Regions from separate parts of the Homo sapiens genome. Here all the other regions are linked to region 3. The links are contacts of gene promoters, found by promoter capture Hi-C in blood cells and fetal thymus (Javierre and others, 2016). All regions are on one chromosome and are shown on one strand. The core of a region is centred on a gene start or on the middle of the fragment in contact, and the rest is flanking DNA. Distances in the headings are between cores, read along the strand shown.

Evidence for each region. The method cuts DNA at HindIII sites, captures the fragments that hold promoters and counts their contacts. A CHiCAGO score of 5 or more calls a contact.
Region 1: a contact is called between a fragment that was not itself captured here and the fragment with the promoter of PEX1 in region 3, in 1 of 17 cell types (non-activated CD4 T cells). The highest score is 9.0, in non-activated CD4 T cells.
Region 2: a fragment that was not itself captured here is called in contact with the fragment with the promoter of PEX1 in region 3 in 1 of 17 cell types (non-activated CD4 T cells); the score reaches 8.6 in non-activated CD4 T cells.

What each region holds. Positions count from the first base shown.
Region 1 is chr7:123,559,323-123,564,341 of GRCh38, reverse strand. It overlaps a transcript of NDUFA5 not described here. Among named protein-coding and RNA genes, the nearest start is that of NDUFA5, 4.0 kb to the right of the region's middle. The HindIII fragment of the contact is 892 bases long and covers 1,095-1,986 here.
Region 2 is chr7:123,530,455-123,535,085 of GRCh38, reverse strand. IQUB (IQ motif and ubiquitin domain containing) reads left to right here and starts at 491. Exons shown (of 13, transcript NM_178827.5): 1 at 491-594. LOC124901740 (a long non-coding RNA gene) reads right to left here and starts at 555. Exons shown (of 2, transcript XR_007060507.1): 1 at 1-555. RefSeq lists silencers at 25-174, 195-424. The HindIII fragment of the contact is 1,073 bases long and covers 1,129-2,201 here.
Region 3 is chr7:92,525,703-92,530,293 of GRCh38, reverse strand. It overlaps PEX1 (peroxisomal biogenesis factor 1), which reads left to right and starts at 1,774. Exons shown (of 24, transcript NM_000466.3): 1 at 1,774-1,987. The coding sequence starts at 1,859. It overlaps RBM48 (RNA binding motif protein 48), which reads right to left and starts at 1,499. Exons shown (of 5, transcript NM_032120.4): 1 at 1,370-1,499; 2 at 628-818. The coding sequence starts at 1,480. RefSeq lists enhancers at 1,196-1,575, 2,176-2,355 and a silencer at 1,716-1,945. The HindIII fragment of the contact is 2,281 bases long and covers 1,688-3,968 here.

The DNA.
Region 1 (5,019 bases), core at 291-2,790, about 31 Mb before region 3:
TTAAAAGAATTATTCTAGCTACTGGGTTGAGAATAAAAAAAGTAAACTAATAAATTAATAGAAGTCAAGTAGGTGGTGCCATATTACACATACTGGGTGAGGCATATACATATAATAACTCATTTAATGTACTCCAGAGAGGGAGGCAAAAGTCAAAGTAGGGAGACCTGTTTTGGGTGTTCTTTTCTTGTTGTTGTTTTATTGATTTACAAAAGTTCCTTACATATTCTAGGCATCGCCTATTTTTTGGTGGCTATATGGGTTGCAGATATCTTCTTCCCGTCTGTGTTGTTTTACAATTTAAGTTGTGTCTCTTGTTATTCAGAAGTATAGAATATTAATGTAGTCAAATTCACCAACCTTTTTTTTGATAGATTTTATTTCATTTTTTCATAGATGTTTGTATTGGGTCATACTGCTCACAGTCCTGCCACATGCAGACTCCTTCTTCACACTGCCCATGATGTGGCATCTAAACATAAATCTCAATCCTGGTGCTTCCTGTTTAGAACCCTTAGAGAACTGCCTGTGGCTCTGTGACCCTCATCATTTAGCCTCCTGTAGGTCTACTGGCTCTAGGATACTGTGATAACAGCCACGTATATGTATAAAAGGCACACTTTATGTTATTGTGCTTTGCTATATTGTTTTACTTCGCAGATATTTTGCAAATTTAAAGTTTGTGGCAACTATGTATCAAGCAAGTCTATTAGCACCATTTTTTCCAACAGCATGTACTCACTTCATGCTTCTGTGTCACGTTTTGGTAACTCTTGAAATATTTCAAACTTCTTCCTTATCTATTATGGTGATCTGTAATTACTGATCTTTGATGTTAGTGTTATTAAGTGTCTTAGAGTTCAACAAACCACACCCATATAAGACAACAAACTTAAATGTTATTTGTGTTCTGGTTGCTCCACCGACTGGCTGTTCCCCATCTCTCTCCTTCTGCTCTAGCCTTCCTATTCCCTGAGATACAACAATGTTGAAATTAGGCCAGTTAATAATGCTGCAATGGCCTTTAAGTGTTCATGTGAAAGGAAGAGTCACAAATCTCTCACTTTAAAACAAAAGTTAGAAACGATTAAGCTTAGTGAGGGAGGCATGTTGAAAGCTAAGATGGGCCAAAAAGTAGGCCTCTTGCACCAGTTAGCCAAGCTGTGAATACAAAGAAAAAGTTCTTGAAGAAAATTAAAAGTGCTACTCTGTTAACACACGAATGATAAAAAGGCAAAACAGGCCAGGCGCGGTGGCTCACACCTGTAACCCCAGCACATTCAGAGACCGAGGTGGGCGGATCACCTGAGGTCAGGAGTTCTAGGCCAGCCTGACCAACATGGTGAAACCCTGTCTCTACTAAAAATACAAAAAAAAATTAGCTGGGAGTGGTGTGCCTGCCTGTAATCCTAGTTACTCAGGAGGCTGAGGCAGGAGAAATGCTTGAACCAGGGAGGCAAAGGTTGCAGTGAGGCGAGATCGTGCTGCTGCACTCCAGCCTGGGCAACAGAGAGAAAACTCTGACTCAAAAAAAAAAAAAAAAGAAAGAAAGAAAGAAAAGAAAAAGAAAAACAGCCTTATTGCTGATATGGAGAAAGTTTTAGTGACCTGGATAGACCAGGCCATCCACAACATTCCCTTAAGCCAAAACCTAATCCAGAGCAAGGCCCTGACTCTCTTCAGCACTATGAAGCCTAAGAGAGGTAAAAAAAGCTGCAGAAGAAAACTCTGAAGCTGTTAGAAATTGGTTCATGAGGTTTAAGGAAAGAAGCCATTTTCGTAACATAAAAGTGCAAGGTGAAGCAGCAAGTGCTGATGTAGAAGCTGCAGCAAGATCCAGAAGATCTAGCTAAGATCACTGATGGAGATAACCACAGGAAACAATAGATTTTTAAAAATGTAGATGAAACAGCCTTCTATGGGAAAAAGATGCTATCTAAGACTTTCAAAGCTAGAGAGGACAAGTCAACACCTGGCTTCAAAGCTTCAAAAGACAGGCTAACTCTCTTGTTACAGGCTTATGCAGCTGTTGAAGCCCATGCTCACTTACCATCCTGAAAATCCTAGGACCCTGAAGAATGATGCTAAATCTAGTCTGCCTGTGTTCTATAAATGGAACAACAAAGTCTGGGCTAAGAAAAAAGAAGATTTCTTTCAAAATATTACTGCTCATTGAAAATGTACCTGGTCACTCAAGAGCCCTGAGGATGAAGATGTACAAAGAGATTAACATTGTTTTCACGCACAACATGCTGCAGTCATCATTCTGCAGTCCACGAGTCAAGGAGTAATGTCCACTTTCAAGTCTTATTTAAAAAAATACATTTTATAAGGCTATAGTTACCATAAATACCGATTCCTCTGACAGATCTGGGTAACATAAATTGAAAACCTTCTTGAAAGAACTGACCACACTAGATGCTATTAAAAAGATTTGGTGATTCATGGGCCAGGTGCGGTGGCCACGCTTGTAATCCTAGCACTTTGGAAGGCTGAGGTGGGTGGATCATGAGGTCAGGAGTTCAAGACCAGCCCGGCCAAGACGGTGAAACCCCGTCTCTACTAAGAATACAAAAATTAGCCGGGTGCGGTGGCAGATGCCTGTAATTCCAGCTACTCGGGAGGCTGAGGCAGGAGAATTGCTTGAACTGGGGCAGCAGAGGTTGCAGTGAGCCAAGATCATGCCACTGCACTCCAGCCTGGGCAATAGAGACTCTGTCTCAAAAAAAAAATTGGTGATTCATGCAAGGAGGTCAAAATATCAATATTAACAGGAGTTTAGCAAAAGTTGATTCCAACTCACATGGATGACTTTGAGGGGTTGAAGATCAGTGGAAAAAGCCATTGCAAATGTGAGGAAAACAGCAAGAGAACCAGAATTAGAAGTAGAGCTTGAAGATGTGACTGAACTGCTGCAATCTCATGATAAAACTTGATCAGATGATGAGTTGCTTCTTGAATGAACAAAGAAAGTGGTTTCTTGAGATGGAATCTACTCCTGGTGAAGATACTGTGAATATTGTTTAAATGACAACAAAGTCTTTATAATATTTTATAAATTTGGTTGATAAAGCAGCAGCAGAATTGAGAGGACTGATTCCAATTTTGAGAGTTCTTCTGTGAGACAAGTGTTATCAAACAGTGCCTTCTGCTACTGACAAATCTTTTGTGAAAAATTTCTGCAAAAAGGAAGCTGGGATTTTGATAGGAATTGTGATGAAACGCTACATCAACTTGAGTATTGCCATCTGACCAATATTGACTTCAAATCATTAAATAAGAAATGTCTATTTATTTAGATCTTTAGTATTTCCAACAATATTTAATACTTTTCAGTGTACAAGTGTTACACTTATTTTGTTAGATTTATTTCTTTTTGATGCTATGGTAAATAGAATTGTTTTCTTAATTTATTTTCAGATTATTCATTGCTATAATAGACTAGAGCATATTTTTGTATATTGATTGCTATGGACTATGTCCCCCAGATTTCATATATTACAGCTCTAAACCTCAATAAAATGGTATTTGGAGATGGAATCTTTGGGAGATAATTAGGTTTAGATGAGGTCATGATGGTAACAGTGGCCTTATAAAAAGGGACACCAGAGATCTTGCTCTCCACCCTGACCCAACCCCAAGCACACACGAAAAGAGGTAAATATGAGCATACCATGAGAGGGTAACCAGTATAAGCCAAAAGAAAAAGCCTCAGAATGAAATCTGTCTTGCTGGCTTTGGTCTTAAACTTATCAGCCTTCAGAACTGTGAGAAATACATTTCTGTTGTTTAAGCCACCTCATCCATAGTATTTTGTTATGGCAGCCTGAGCTGACCCTGATAGATCACGTATAATGTAACTTTGCTGAAGTTATTTGTTTTAATTGTATGTATGTGTGTATTCCTTAATAATCCTATATAAAAGATTATGCAACTGTGAATAGAGATAGTTTTACTTTTTCCTGTCTCTTCTGGATGACTTTTATTCATTTTATTTTCTTGCCTAATTCCCTTAGCTAATATTTCCAATATATTGTTGGATAGAAGTGGTGAGAGTGGAAAAATATTTGTCTTGTGAATGATCTTAGCAGAAAAGAATTGCCTTTCACTCTTAAGTATGATGTTGTGGGGTTTTTCTAAGCATCTTTATCAGGTTGAAAAATTTCTCTTCTTTTCCCAGCTTGTTGTGTGCTTTTATCATGAAAGCATGTTGAAATTTGTCCAATGCTTTTTCTGCATCTATTAAAATTATCATATAGTTTTTGTCCTGTATTCAATGGTACATTAGATTAATTGATTTGGGGATGTTAAACCAACTTTGTATTTTTGAAATAAATATCATTTATTTGTGGTGTATAATTTTTTTTTCATATGCTACTGAATTTGGTTTGCTAGTACTTTTCTGAGTATTTTGTGTTTATTAATAAGGGATATTGGCCTGAAGTTTTATTTTCTTTTTTCTTTCCTTTTTTTTTTTTTTTTTTGTGAGACGGAATCTTGCTCTGTCACCCAGGCTAGAGTGCAATGGCCCAATCTTGGCTCACTGCAACCTCTGCCTCCTGAGTTTGAGTGATTCTCCTGTCTCAGCCTCCAGAGTAGCTGAGATTACAGGCACACACCACAAGGCCTGGCTAATTTTTGTATTTTTAGTAGAGAGAAGGTTTTGTCATGTTGGCCAGGCTGTCTCAAACCCTTGACCTCAGGTGATCCTCCTGCCTCAGCTTCCCAAAGTGCTGGGATTACAGGCATGAGCCACCAGGCCCAGCCGAAGTTTTCTTTTCTTGTTGATTTCTTTGTCTGGTTGGAATCAGAGTCCACACCTGGCTGAAGTTTTTGTTTCTTGTTGATTTCTTTGTCTGGTTGGAATCAGAGTAATACTTGCCTTATAGAATTAGTTGTTAATTGTTTCCTCCTCTTCTATATTTTGGAATAGTTTCTTAAGTGTTATTCTTTAATTGTTCAGTGGAATTTACCAGCGAAGCCATCTGGACCTGTGCTTTTCCTTCTGGATAGGTTTTT
Region 2 (4,631 bases), core at 416-2,915, about 31 Mb before region 3:
TCGCCTCTGGCTCCTCCCCTTTCTCCTGCCATGTTTCTTCTCCCCGCCCCCTCGCCTCTGGCTCCTCCCCCTTTTCCCTATCGCGTTCCTCCTTTGCAGCCCCCATCCCCCTCCTCTGGCTCCTCTTCTTCCCTACCGCGATCCTCCTTCCAGACCCCGGCCCCCAGCCCGCCTCTAGCTCCTTCCCTTATTTCCTGCCGCGCTCCTCCTTCCCGACACCGCCCCTCCGCCTCTGGCTACTCCTCTTCTCTCCTGCCGCACTCCTCCTTCCCGGCCCCACCTCCCCGCCTCTGGCTCATCCCCTTCTCTTCTGCCGCCCTCCTCCTTCCCGGCCCCGCCCCCAGTCTTTGGCTCCTCCCCCTACCCTGCCGCGCTCCTCCTTCCCGGCCCCTCCCCGCTGCCCTCTTCTGGCTCCTCCCCCCCACCCGCCTCTGGCTCCTCTCCTTCCCACCCCTGCCGTGCTCCGGCAGGAAGAGGTGGTGCCAGGGCCGTTGCTAGGATACGACCAACAGCTGAGAACGCGGCGAGTATGGAAGCTGCGTCTTAGGAGCCTGGGAAAGCACTTCGACGAGAATAGTTTGGTTTCGTACACAGGTAGGAGAACAGATTTTGACTGCGGCCTCCTGGTCCGACGCTTAGATCCAGCCTAGAGCCGGTGACAGCCGCGCTGGACTCTGGGTTCTGTGTGCTGGGCAGTGATTCCCACCTGAGCGCCTGGGGCTGCCTAGTCGGTCAGGAATGTTCCGACTTTACTTTAAAAACCGTGCGAAGCATCTCATCTTTCTCGGCTCCTTTTTTGGCTTCCCCTCTCTGATTTGGGACTTGAACCAGCAGCATCAAGCTAGGAGGTACACCTCACCTCACACCCTGGGTGCTTGTCACGGTAATTGCATAGAAGATGTGTGTATAACCCACACCTGGCACTAGAGACTCTTAGCCTTCCGTGGCCACCATTCTCATATTAAGTCGAGAGATTTTAGACTTTCCTCACCTGGCACTCTCACTCCTTCCTCTCCACCCTTGGTCTTTGCCTCTTAACAAACCTAAAAATTCAACAGATCTATTTGGTAGAAGGCAATACTGGATCCCTGCCTCACTAATTATACTACATTCTAAATGTGTTAAGCTTTAAATGGTAGGGAATGAAATGTAGGTGAAAAGGGAGACTTTTTTGTATGCAAACATGATAGAGGTTGCTTTTTAAACAATAAGATTTAAACATTTTCATTTGAATAGATAATACATAAAAAAATAGTTCGAATAGTAAAAAGAATGAAGAGTGAAAATCCTCCATCTACCCATTTCTCCCCATCTCCAGGCCACCTTCCACAGGTGTTTTAGACATACGCAAATATGTAGTTACACCTGTAACATTGTGCATACTCTTCTGTGATTGGCTTTTACACTTAAGACTGTGTGTCCAGTTGTTTTCTATCAATATTTACAGATCTGTCTCATTTATGCATTTATGGATGAATTTATGTATTTATGTTTCATTGTGAGAAGGTGTTTCGAAGCATGTCAGGAAATTTGGAAACTCTCATAAGCAAAAAGATTGATAAATGTCACTACCTAACAATCTAAAACTTTTATATAGTAAGAGAAAAACAACATCAAACATACAATGGGAAATATAAGGGCAACACACAACAAAGGGATATTTAATTATTAGGACTCATAAAACAATATGAGGATGTAAGGAAACAGTCAAGGGGAACTTCTTGGGGCTATAATAGAAAACAGTTTGATGGAATTTAACAAAATTAAGATCTGTATGCCCTTTGACTTGTCCATTCTAATTCTGGGAACTCATTTTCAGTATACTTACACATATATACAGAGATAGATGTATAAAATGTTTGTTGCAGCACTATTTTTAATAGTAAAAAACTAGAGGGGTCTGCATGGCGGGGCCTCGGAGCCAAGACGAGGTTGAGTAGACTCGTTTTGAATTTTCTCCCCTCTGCTCCGGCGGACTTCCCATGTCGCCTTGTGGGGCTATCGGCGGCGGCAGGACTGGGGGAGTCAGAGGTCTGGCAGCGCTGTCTGCGCAGACCTACCGGACGCTACCTCCCAACCCCCCTTTCTTCCTCCTGCCTCCTCCTCCTCCCGTCACCTCCTGACCCGCCGGAGCTCCGAGCAACTGCCGGCCTCCGCCCCCAGCCGCAGCCGGTCACTGGCGGCGCCTTCCGCGCCAAGCTTGGGGGCCTTTTCGGGGTCCTACATGGCACGGCTTCCGACCCCCGGCCCGGGACGGGGCTCGCAGGCCCCAGAGGGGCAGGCTGGAGAAGGAGGAGGTTAGGTGTCTTCAGGAGGGTTGCTGAGCCCAAGGACGCGCCATCGCCGCGGAGAAGGAGCCGGACCCCTTGGGCGGAGCGCCCAATGTGTGGTCCCTCACGCCGTCCCGCACCTTGCTTTTTAGGGTTCTTTTTCCGCTTTCTGAGCCCTTTTATACCTTACGTTTAGAAGGGGAAAATCATCCTCCCACACCTTCTCCCCGACTTTTTGCCTTTTTTGTCTTGAAGTTACCCAAAGGTCTGTGTATTGTTCTCAGTGGTCCCAAGAATTACTCGAATATAGTTGTTTTTCTGAGGGAGGATGGATGGAGATAACTATCCTGATCCCAGTGTCACTTTTTAAGGCATTCGCTTCAAGAGACAAGCAGTTTAGAATCAGGCAGAACTGGATTGCAAAATTTATGGGCAGACCGGTATGTGTGAAGGTGAAGACAAAGCTTTCCTTTTTTACGTTGTTTAAAGATGTCCTACTGTAAGGTAGACGCCTAATATTTAAATGAACGCCTAATATTTAAATAGAGAATGAGAAGAGATTTAAACAATTGGAAGAAAAAAATAATTTTTATTAGAAAGCAATGACAATAAAAGTAGGACTCTTTTCAGTTTACTCACCTTTGTAACTCCGAATCCGGGCCCTGGAACCAGAATTCCTGGGTTCAAATCCTGCCTCTGCTACTTGATTAACCTTTTTGTGCCACACTTTTATCAACTGTAAGAATTAACTGCGCCATCGGAAGCACTCAGTATATGTTAATTATTATCATCAAATAGTTACTAATTCCAGTTTAACTAGAAGCTTTGCCAGCGTGAATAGATAAGGGAGAATAGCCACATTGAGTGGAGGAATAAAATTAGAAAACCTCTGTGCTGAAGTCCCAGGAGATCACTTATTAGGCTTGAGCTTGCTAATGGAAGTGGTGATCGTTTAACCATGTGGTTATTGTAGTGGTGAAGATTTACACATTAAATAAGTCTTGGGCATCTGAAGCTTGAAACACTTTCTTAATGAAATCTTGCCGTTGAATCTGTACTTACTGATAATATGTCATTGGTTAAAATATATTTATAAAATGTATAATTGACCAGCAGGTTAATACATTTTTATCATTAATTTGAAATTTATCAAAATGAGAATATACAGTACCTGACGGTCAGTGGAGTTTGATCTTAATTTGATTTGAAAATTATGATCAGGAAAATAAATAACCTGAATATATGCTTAATAATATAAGACTTTGAGTTTGCAAAACAGAAATCCTGACTTGACTAAAATACACTTTTCATTTGACGGAGACCTTTAGTTAAGGAAAGATTAGTTTTAGCATTCAACATAACTAAATACCCAGCATTATGTTTTACGGTTTTTTTCAACAATGATTTATGTGTCGTGTTTGGTGTTGCCTCCAAGCAGTACCTAGGATAGCTGATGCTTTTACTTTGAGTCTTTTTCTTTAGTTGGAACATTAATTGCAAGCTTTTGGTTGGTAATCATTTTTTATGGGATGTATTTACTATATGGTCCTCACGGAGACACATTGTTATCTGGAGAACCACAGTTTGGAAAATACATTTCTCTTTATTATAAAGTTTTTTGTTTTATATATATAATGCCACAGTGTGATAGGATACAAAGACTATGCATTAGGGCTTTGGAGTCTTAATTGTTCTTTGTGTTTTTCTTTTTTTCCAATTTGATTATGGATCCGAACCTAATGCACTCTGTGATCTTAAGCAAGTTTCTTGACAGTTCCAGTTTTCCTATCTACAGAGACAAGAAGATCTACCTCAGAGTCATTGTAAGGATTAAATAAATTTGTAAAGCTCTCAAAGAGCAGCCTAATCCCAGCATTTTGGGTGGCCGAGGCGGGCGGAGCACCTGAGGTCAGGAGTTTGAGACCAGCCTGGCCAACATGGTGAAACCCCGTCTCTGCTAAAAATACAAAAATTGGCCAGGCATGGTGGGGGGTGCCTATAATCTGAGCTACTGGGGAGGCTGAGGCAGGAGAATTGCTTGAATCTGGGAGGTGGAGTTTGCAGTAAGCCAAGATCGCGCCACTTCACTCCAGCCTGGGCAAAAAGAGTGAAACTCCATCTCAAAAAAAAAAAAAAAAAAAAATCAAAGAGCAAAAAGGTAAAAAGTTTGTGCAGAGTAAAAAATGGGTAGAAATGGATTACAGGGAAGCTTATAGTGAGAACAAACCATAAATAAAATTGACATTGTGAACACCAGCCTTAGATTTTTTTTCCCTGAAAATTAAAAAGTGCTTTTTTAAATTTTTTTATTTTTTGAGTTGGAGGGTTTTTTGGTGTTGTTGTTGTTGTTTGTTGTTGTTT
Region 3 (4,591 bases), core at 525-3,024:
TTGAACCCCTGACCTCAAGTGATCTGCCTGCCTCGGTCTCCCAAAGTGCTGGGATTACAGGCGTGAGTCACCACGCCCAGGCTTCAAACCCAAATTTTTTTTTTTTTTTTTTTTTTGAGGCAGAGCTTCCCTCTTGTTGCCCTGTCTGGAGTGCAATGGCGCAATCTCGGCTCACTGCAACCTCTGCCTCCCGGTTTCAAGCGATTCTCCTGCCTCAGCCTCCCGAGTAGCTGGGATTACAGGCCTGCGCCACTAGACCCAGCTAATTTTGTATTTTTAGTAGAGAGGGGGGTTTCACCATGTTGGCCAGGCTGGTCTCAAACTCCTGACCTCGTGATCCGCCCACCTCGGTCTCCCAGAGTGCTGGGATTGCAGGCGTGAGCCACCGTGCCTGGCCAAACCCAACTTCTACTCTACCAAGCTACAGGACATTAAATTGTTAAGCATGGGAATGATGTGATGGATACAGTGTTTCAGTAAAGTTAACTTTTAAAAAGGCTGGAGGAAGATATGCTAGATTACGTTTTGGGGTAATTCAGTTATGAATGAGGGAAACTTGGGGCCAAAATGACAGAAATATGAATGGAAGAAATGAGGAAATGAGTCATTTCTTAACTTGCACATTACCTTGCACTTTGTAAGTTCATAAATTTAATAAGATAAACTTCAGTAAAGTCTTCTGCTGGGTATTCATCTAGAGCATTGTACTGTTCAATTGCACCATATAAAGCGAATCGCTCAACTAATTCCTTCATGACTCCCACAGCAGGAACTCCTTGTATTAATAAGTACTGAGATTCCAAATTGATTGTATATACCTGAAAGAAATGCAGAGTTATTAAACGTATTTCGCAAATAAGCCTAGGACGAATCTGCCTCTATTTTTTTTTAAAGAGAACTTTGAAAACAAGAAATAATCTGTTCAACCCAGTCAGCAAAAGAACACAAAATGAAATTTCTGCCATTCCTTCTGCATAAAGAATAACAGTCCATGTGAGAGGCTACCTAAGGCATATAACAGACTACCTTCAGTCGACATTTTTTTCCAGAAATTGAGTCGGTAGAAGTCACTGGGAACAATCACTCAACGAATATTCACTGAGTGCTTACCTGTGCCAAGTAGTACTGTAAACACAGAAGATCCAATGACTAAAACCAAGGCCTATTCTCGTGGAGTTGATGTTCTAATACTTGACCAAAGGCGTCGTGAGAATCTTTGGTAACTGACCGAGGGTTCTTCACGCCAGCTCTAACGAGAGACAGATCTGACGGAAGCCTTGTCGTGCCTTTATTTCCGTAGGCTGGTCATATGGCGCTAGCACTCACATAAAGCTACCGAGGAGAGCGAATGAAACCAAAATCACTTTACCTTCACAGCACGAGGCCGTCGTCCCTCTCGATATTTGGCCCGTGTGTCGCATACCGCCCTCTGGACGTGGTGATCAAATAAACTCCCTAGCTCCCCGCCGCTCGACGCCATCTTGCCTACTTTGATCCTCGCAGGGAGGACAACATCCGCCCTACTGAGCTCCCTTTTATCCAATAAGAGAGCGGGATGAGTTAAGGAGTGCCAGGATTGGCTGGAGAATCGACAGCGTCGGCCATCGTTTCCTGCGTGCGAAGATTTGATGAACGAGGTGCCGCCCCCGAGCGGCTCGGCGGAGAGGCGCGGTGGGTGACAGAAGCTTTCTTGTCCCACCCACTACAGGCTTACGGCAGGATGCGCAGCGGGGAGAGGGGGCGGGGCCGCAGGGGGCGGGGCCGATCGATCTCCTCCGGCTCCGACGTCCTCGGCCTGCCGGGTCCCGGGTCCTTTGCGGCGCTAGGGTGGGCGAACCCAGAGCGACGCTCCGGGACGATGTGGGGCAGCGATCGCCTGGCGGGTGCTGGGGGAGGCGGGGCGGCAGTGACTGTGGCCTTCACCAACGCTCGCGACTGCTTCCTCCACCTGCCGCGGCGTCTCGTGGCCCAGCTGCATCTGCTGCAGGTAACCTGCCGGCCCCGAGCCACCTGATCTTCAGCCTGGGGTCGGACGAGGCCGAAGCCTCTCAGGGACGCGGCGGGACACCGGCTGCCACCCGGGCGCCGCCGAAGCGCGCAGAGATCAGGGTCCCTCGACGGCAGGGCCCTTCTGGGTAGTCTCTGGATCCCACAAGTCCAGTGCAGCCCTGGGCTCGTCTTATCCCAGGTCTTTTCACTTGGTGAAACTGAACCTAGAAACGTCCTAATATTCTACCACTGTTTTTATAAATATTCCTTATTCCAGGCTGGAAAAGCTCCTGAGAAGTGGTTTGTTTTTATTATTTTAAAAGGTGTTTTCCTTGCCAGCCATTTCCAGTTAACCTGCGCTGCTGCCGTCCGGGCCGCGAGAGCGGGACGCAGAGTTGTTGGCGGAGCCCCTGTCGGTTCCCGGGGACTAAGCACCGCGTCCCATGAGCGGGAAAGGTTAATACAATGATGGTTCTGCCCTGCGTCGCTGACGCGGAACACAGCTGTAGTGTGTTAGGAACACATAACGTAGTTAAGATCACTTGAAGCTCTGCGATCAGTCGCCCTTCTGGACGTTGTGGTTAGGATGTTTCACAGTTCTAACCACTGGTGGAGATACAGCGTCCATATTTTCATAATTAAAAATAGAGGCACATGGTCTCACGAGTTTGAGTGTACTTATGGGGGCAAAAGGACGGCGTATTTGAAATCCTCATAAATCCTGGATGCATGGTACCCACCAGTGGCTAATCTATGCAATGAATAGAGTTTGCAATAATTTCAAGCATCCCTTCTTTCCACTTGAGTTACTTCCCCATACCTAGGGGAAGATATTTTTGGTCCACTGAAAACATGAGTTCAGCAGAATCCTCCTATCATCGTCGTTATTATTTTTTACCACTAAGTAGACAATCTTTTGGTTTTTGATGGGCTTTATGGCTAGAGACAAATCAGTCACTGTCACCAAGTTCCAGGTAGAAGTTGGTTCAGTGCTCTGTCAGCTTCGATGGGATTTTTCAACATGTTTTCAAATCTGCACTTAATAGTAGGAATGCTTTCTTACAGTAACTCTAATTTGATCCTAAGATGTAGTTGTTACCTTACATTCATCACTGTTTAAGAATTTAGTGGTCTTGATCTTTGTTTTAAATTTTGAGCCTTCGGGAAGTACTTATAAGAATTAATTCATGCATATCTTTTTGAAATGTAAATGTCTTTAGCCCTGGAACAAATTGCTGTTTCTGTTCAGCCCATATTAGCAGAATAGGTCAACTTTACTTTCTAATTATCAATGTAATAAGTTTATTACTTTATAGATTCCATAAATCTATACATTTATTCCTCGATGAATTATATAAATTTATAGAATTTATGTTTTATAGAAAATTTGGAAAGCATGGAAAATTATTAACAAGAAAATAAGTTACCCATAATCCCAGAACTTAGAGGTGACTAATGTTGACAGTTTGGATCAAATCTTCCAGTTTTGTTTCTAATCTTTATTTTTAACATAAATGAGGTCCTGTATACACACGTACAGTTTTGTGTCCTGGTGTTTTTATTTAATGTTATTATGAGTGTTTTATTTTGTTAAAAGGTCATCATTTTAAGTTGTTAATTAGTATTCTAGCACAAATTTGCCATAATTTATTTAATTGTTTACTATGATTGACCATTTAGATTGTACTTAATTTTTAGGCATTAGAAGTGATAAACTATATTTTAATCAGACGTTGAAAATAACACATCTTTGTTTAGAAAACATCATTTTATTTCTGGTTGTCTAGGATAGATTCCCAGAATTCTTGGGTTAGAGGCCATAGATAATTATGAAAGCAGAAAGATTCACAAGTTGGGAGTTAATACTTGAATTACTTTATTTGGGGTGAAGCATTGAGTGCATAATACAGATCATGCAGTAATGGGAAGAAGGGTTGGAACAATGGTTTTCTGGCCTATGTCAGACTTACCTTGAAGCTTTTAAGAATACAGATGTTCTGATCAACCCTCAGACCTATTAAATCAGACCTAAAATCTTAGGGAATAGGCTTTAGGCATCTCTAATTTTAAAAAATTTATTCAGGCTACTTGGATGCACAAAAGAGTTGAGACCTACTGTCCTAGAATCATAGAATTTTAATGACGATAGAGACCTTAAGCATCTAGGTCGTTTCTGTACTTTTACATGTAAGGAAACTGGCATTCCTAGGCCAGTACCATTGCCATGCAGCTAATTTGCCCTCTTGTCTATAGCTCACTCTGCATCACCCAACCTACCGTTCTCACTGTTTCTTCTATAACCAATCTCCTTCCCACTTCTGTTCTCTTACTCATGCCATTCTTCCCTCAGTCATTTTTCTTCCTTCCATACAAATTCCATGTCTTTAAAAAGGAATAATCCTACCTCCTCCACATAGCTTTCCAATTCTCTGTTGCCCACATTTGTCTCCCTTTCAATACTTCTCTGTTGTGTTATGTGACACATCACATTTGATATACTCTGTACTGTGTTTCAAGTATTGTATTCTCTTGTTTACTCAAGTCATTATTTCAGGACTGACTACCCAGTAGATGCTTTAAGTCAGGATTTCTCAACCTTGGC